2 separate regions of the Homo sapiens genome follow, and region 2 is linked to region 1. The links are contacts of gene promoters, found by promoter capture Hi-C in blood cells and fetal thymus (Javierre and others, 2016). All regions are on one chromosome and are shown on one strand. The core of a region is centred on a gene start or on the middle of the fragment in contact, and the rest is flanking DNA. Distances in the headings are between cores, read along the strand shown.

Region 1 (2,984 bases), core at 105-2,604:
GTATCTTCTAAGATATTAGCAAAGTGTAAACCACCAGCTTTATCTCCATATTAATGTTCTCAAACAGCAAAGGGAAATATTACATCTCAACTATACATACTCCTTGGTGTTCACAAGACATTAGCTGGATGTTGGTGTGAAGTCAGATAAAAGAGCTACAAAGTGTGTAATAAGAGTATTCTTGGCCGGGGGCAGTGGCTCACGCCTGTAATGTAATCCTAGCACTTTGGGAGGCCGAGGCAGGCGGATCACGAGGTCAGGAGTTCGAGACTAGCCTGGCCAATATGGTGAAACCCCCAACTCTACTATTAATACAAAAATTAGCCGGTCGTGGTGGCGCGTACCTAAAGTCCCAGCTACTCGGGAGACTGAGGCAGAAGAATCTCTTGAACTCGGGAGGCGGAGGTTGCAGTAAGCCAAGATCTCACCATTGCGCTCCAGCCTGGGCGACAGAGCGAAATTCCGTCTCAAAAAAGAAAGAAAAAAAAAAAGGGTATCCTCAAAATCATTGTGAGGAGAGGGTAATCTGAAGTAATCAAAACAATCCCCCTCCCCGCTTTTTGGGGGAGTGAAGGAGAAAGGGAGAAGGCAGCAGGTAGCCGTTCCTGTGGAAAGGATACAGAACTCGTCAGTGGGACGAGTAATTCTTTCCCTGTGAAAGCAATGAAGACAAACACCTGGGGAAGGTTAGCGGCTCCAACGTAAGACGTTAAAGAGAGTTCCAACAGGGCACAGCACCCACAGACAGTGTGAAAAGAACGGAAACAGGGGCAATAGGAGCAGAGGAATGTCCTGTACTTTTCAATTCTAGGCAGGCAACATGCAAAGGGTTCATGAAGCGGTATACGATATGTAATGGATTTTCTCGTTTCAGGTAAGAAAAACTGGGTTAGGAGGTGGGACGAGAGAAGCAGGTTCGCCACTTTAGGTTACCCTCACCCGCCTACCCCATACCCTCGTTGCTCTTGTTCAGCACGTTCAGACAGTCCTTGGCTTCCACATACTTGGTCTGTACCACTTTGAGCTGAGCAATGGACGTGGACAAGAACTCCACTTCCTACAGAGGACCGGGATAGCGGGTCAATGAGAGGACTAAGGGGAGAAAGGAGCGCGGCCGGGGAGGGGGCAGGTCCTGGGATCGGATAGAGGTTTCGCCTGGGAAAGGTAGGCTGCCAACTTGGAACCGGGCGCGAGAAGTACGCGTGGGCAAGGGGGATGTAGAGCAGGAAAGAGGTGCCTCTGGGGCCCGTCCCCACCTGGTCCAGCTGGTTCTTGAGCATTTCTAGCTGCGGCAGATTCAGCTCCGTGATGTTAATAGACTGCGCCATGTTGGGAAGGCCGACTTAACGAAGAGGAAGTCTCTCGGCGAGCAACGCTCTAGCCGTCCTCTGCGCGTCTCGGTGGCGCCGGGAGGCCTCGCTGCGCCAGACAGCTCTATGATCCTCCGTCCCGGAAGGGAAGGAGGGGCTTGAGCCTCTCAGAGACTGTTGTGTGAGTTCATTTCATAAAATGTCTTAAGCCTAGTATTGTAAAGTAGCAGCAAACAGGACTCCTGCCTACAAGGAACTGCAAAATCTTAAAGTTCTCACGACACAACCACGATATTACAAAGTAGTGTATGCTACTCCACGTGGGTGGTATAAGCTACTGGAAAGCAGGCTGGATTGCCATGGCGACGGCTCGGGGGCCTGGCCCTGCTCCTCTCCACCCCGCTTGCTATTGCTGCCTGCTGGTACCCCGCCAGGCCCGATTTCAAATGTTCCTCCCAGCACGGCATGGAAATGGCAGGGAAATTCTAAACTCTTTTTCCCAGATGGCCTCTGAGGCCGAAAGGCAGGAAAAAAAAAAAAATCCCTTGTCAGACCGTTCTGAATTGTCCTTGGAAAAAAACAGGCATTAGATTGAAAGCTTGTCGAAGGCAGGAACCAACCATGTTCTCATCACTGAACCAATTCTTCCCCTCTCGCTATAACCATCTTCCCCCAGCCGGAAGTAGGCTGACACGTAGTAGGATCTGAAAAAGGGTTTATCACCCGTTGCCAGTGAGGTGGTGGGAGAACAGCAAGGAAGCGCCATTGTCAACCAAGTACAGCACAAATTAATCAATAAAATATTTTGGCCGGGCATGGTGGCTCACGCCTGCAATCCCAGCACTTTGGGAGGCCGAGAAGGACAGATTGCTTGAGCCCAGGAGTTTGAGACCAGCTTGGGCAACACGGCGACACCCCGTCTCCACAAAAAATACAAAAATTAGCCGGGCTGGTGGCACACGCCTGTAGTCCCAGCTACATGGGAGGCTGAGGTGGGAGGATCGCTTGAGCTGGAGAGTTGAGGCTGCAGTAGGCTGTGATTGTGCACACTAGCAACAGAGCTAGACTCTGTCTCAAAAAAAAAAAGGTTTTACCATGTGCTGTATGTGAGGGATACGTGAGAGTGTAAGATACTTGCTTCCCTTGAGCTTAACAATTGGAGAGAAAAACCACACTAGAACTCCACAGATCCACAGACTCTACTGCTAAAGTTACACATTGGTAAGTGTAACAGGTGTACATGGGCAGACAGCAGTAGCCTTTAACATCTACTTAGGAGGCAGGCAGGGCAACTGAGGCATTAAAACTAGTGCCATGGCTGGGCGCGGTGGCTCACGCCTGTAATCCCAGCACTTTGGGAGGCTGAGGAGGGTGGATCACAAGGTCAGGAGTTCGAGACCAGCCTGGCCAATATGGTGAAACCCTGTCTCTACTAAAAATGCAAAAATTAGTGGGACGTGGCGGCATGTGCCTGTAGTTCCAGCTACTCAGGAGGCTGAGGCAGGAGAATCGCTTGAACCCAGCAGGCAGAGGTTGCAGTGAGCCGAGATTGCGCCACTGCACTCCAGCATGGGCAACAGAGCAAGACTCTGTCTCAAAAAAAAACAAAAACAAAAAACAAAACACTAGTGCCACTCCAAAGATACCTGCGGCAGGAAGACAGGACGGACGGAT
Region 2 (3,002 bases), core at 279-2,778, 81 kb before region 1:
GGGAATTAAACTGCCGCCGGGCGCAATGGCTCAGACCTGTAATCCCAGCACTATGGGAGGCCGAGGCGGGCGGATCGCTTGAGCCCAGGAGTTAAAGACCAGCCTGGGCAACATGGTGAAACCCCGTCTCCACAAAAAATAACAAAAATTAGCCAGACGTGGTGATGTGCGCCAGTAGTCCCAGCTACTCGGGAGGCTGGGGTGGAAGAATCGCTTGAACCCAGGAGGTTGAGGCTGCAGTGAGCTCAAATCCTGCCACTGCACTCCAGCCAGGACAACAAAGCAAGACCTTGCTCCAAAATAAGTAAATATATAGACTGGGCGCGGTGGCTCATGCCTGTAATCCCAGCATTTTGGGAGGCCGAGGCAGGCGGATCACCTGAGGTCAGGAGTTCAAGACCAGCTTGACCAACATGGAGAAACCCCGTCTCTACTAAAAATATAAAACTAGCCAGGCATGGTGGGACATGTCTGTAATCCCAGCCACTTGGGAGGCTGAGGCAGGAGAATCGCTTGAATCCAGGAGGCAGAAGTTGTAGTGAGCCAAGATCGTGCCATTGCACTCGGGCCTGGGCAACGACAGTGAAACTCCATCTCAAAGAAAAAAAAAAAAGTAAATATATAGATGCTTTTTAATTTTTACTGTCTAGCTCCTGAAAAAAAAAAAAAAAAGCCTACTCCCAGGACGGATCAAATGGCATCATCCTCTTAGATACCTTTATTATAAAATTTATCAGAATACATGACAATTAATTTCATCTCTCACTGTATCAAGGTTTCTCAAAATGAAATGTCACACACTCTCAGAATCCTCTGGGTTCTTTTTTCAAAAAAGGCAGATTCCTAGATTTCCACCCTAAACCTATTTTTAAGTAGCTCTTTCAAGTGATTAGGCCCTAAACCTAGTTTAAAACACACCAAGAAGGCTGGGCGCAGTGGCTCATGCCTGTAATCCCAGCATTTTGGCAGGCAGAGGCGGGCAGATCACTGGAGGTCAGGAGTTCGAGACCAGCCTGACCAACATGGTGAAACCCCATCTCTACTAAAAATACAAAAATTAGTCGGGCGTGGTGGTGCATGCCTATAGTCCCAGCTACTCGGAAGGCTGAAGCAGGAAAATCGCTTGAACCTAGAGGCGGAGGTTGCAGTGACCGGGGATCATGCCACTGCACTCCAGCCTGGGCGACAGAGCAAGATTTGGTCTCAAAGAAAAGAAAAGAAAACAAAACAAAACAAAAACACCAAGAGAAGAAACTGGGGAAAAGAAACTTCCAGAAAGGGAGAAATTTCCTGGAAGGAAGAAACTGCATTACTCATCTTTGTAAACCAAGCTCTGAAGATTCTAATAGCTGTTTAGTCCATTCAGCAACTGTCCATACCTAAACTTGCTTAGGGGTGGAGGTAGGGAGAGGAAACTTAACACCGTGGAGGAGTATTCTAAACATTTCACATATTTATCTAATTTAATTATTCCTACCAATTTAAGAGATAGTTGTCCCCTTTTACAGATGAGAAAACTGAGGCTCAGATATTTTAGTTAAATTATGACTGTTCTGTTTAGTTCCAAAGCCTGTGTTTTTTCCATAGTCCTAGACTACACCCGAATTGGGAATTAGGATAAAATTAAACTGACAAAAAGACCTAAATTCAGAAATTCAATAGCCATCATCCTTTTTACAATCCTTTCCCCTTTGCTCCTCCAGAAGAAGACAATTCAGCATGAGGCCAGTGAGGAATGCCCTAGACGTATACTAGTTTATTGATAGTCCCTGAGAGCAAATGAATGACATGATCCATCTTGTCCAATTGCTCTGTAAAAACCTGAAAAAGTGTTCTTTAGACTGAAAAAAAAAAACAAAAACAAAAAAACCAACTTATATCAAGGCTATTCAGATCCCTTACATGCACACACGCAGTGTCTATCTTTTCTTTTTTTTTTTTGAGAGTCTCACTCTGTCTCCAAGCCTGGAGTGCAGTGGTGCGATCTCAGCTCACTGCAACCTCTGCCGCCCAGGTTCAAGTGATTCTCCTGCCTCAGCCTCCCAAGTAGCTAGGATTACAGGTGCACGCCACTATGCCTGGCTAATTTTTGTATCTTAGTAGAGATGAGATTTCATCATGTTGGCCAGGCTGATCTCAAACTCCTGACCTCAGGTGATCCTCTGCCCACCTCGGCCTCCCAAAGTGCTGGGATTACAGGTGTGAGCCACTGCGCCCGGCAATTTTTTTTTTTCCTGAGACGGAGTCTTGCCCTGTTTCCCAGGCTGGAGTGCAGTGGCGCGACTTTGGCTCACTGCAACCTCTGCCTTTCAGATTGAAGCAATTCTTTCTGCCTCAGCGTCCCTTGTAGCTGGGACTACAGACATGTGCCACCATGCCTGGCTAATTTTTGTATTTTTAGTAGAGACAGGGTTTCACCATGTTAGCCAGGCTGATCTTGAACTCCTGACCTGAGTTGATCTGCCCGCCTCAGCCTCCCAAAGTGCTGCGATTACAGGTGTGAGGCACTGCACCTGGCTACCTGGTTAACTTTTTGATGTTTTGTTGAGATCTCATTATGTGGCCCAGTTGGTGTTGAACTCCTGAGCTCAATCCCAAAGTGCTGGGATTACAAGCACGAGCCACCATGCCCTGCTTAAAATTCGTATCTTTTTTTTTTCTATACAGAGTCTCGCTCTATGGCCCACACTGGAGTGCAGTGGCGCGATCTCGGCTCACTGCAAGCTCTGCCTCCCGGGTTCACGCTATTCTCCTGCTTCAGCCTACTGAGTAGCTGGGACTACAGGCACCCATCACCACGCCTGGCTAATTTTTTGTATTTTTAGTAGAGACGGGGTTTCACCATGTTAGCCAGGATGGTCTCGATTTCTTGACCTCGTGATCCGCCCACCTCGGCCTCCCAAAGTGCTGGGATTACAGGCATGAGCCACCGGGCCCAACCATTTTTTTTTGTTGGGGGTACAGGGTCTCGCTCTGTTGCCAGGCTGGAGTGCAGTGGCGTG

Evidence for each region. Contacts are between HindIII fragments. The CHiCAGO score rates a contact against its expected background, and 5 or more counts as called.
Region 2: a fragment that was not itself captured here is called in contact with the fragment with the promoter of PFDN5 in region 1 in 8 of 17 cell types (erythroblasts, fetal thymus, M2 macrophages and 5 more); the score reaches 8.3 in erythroblasts.

Annotation. Positions count from the first base shown.
Region 1 is chr12:53,293,912-53,296,895 of GRCh38, reverse strand. PFDN5 (prefoldin subunit 5) reads right to left here and starts at 1,354. Exons shown (of 6, transcript NM_002624.4): 1 at 1,257-1,354; 2 at 955-1,057; 3 at 621-652. The coding sequence starts at 1,328. RefSeq lists enhancers at 447-1,646, 1,132-1,671. The HindIII fragment of the contact is 3,517 bases long and covers 1-1,910 here.
Region 2 is chr12:53,375,482-53,378,483 of GRCh38, reverse strand. No RefSeq gene overlaps it. Among named protein-coding and RNA genes, the nearest start is that of SP1, 3.2 kb to the left of the region's middle. The HindIII fragment of the contact is 5,800 bases long and covers 1-3,002 here.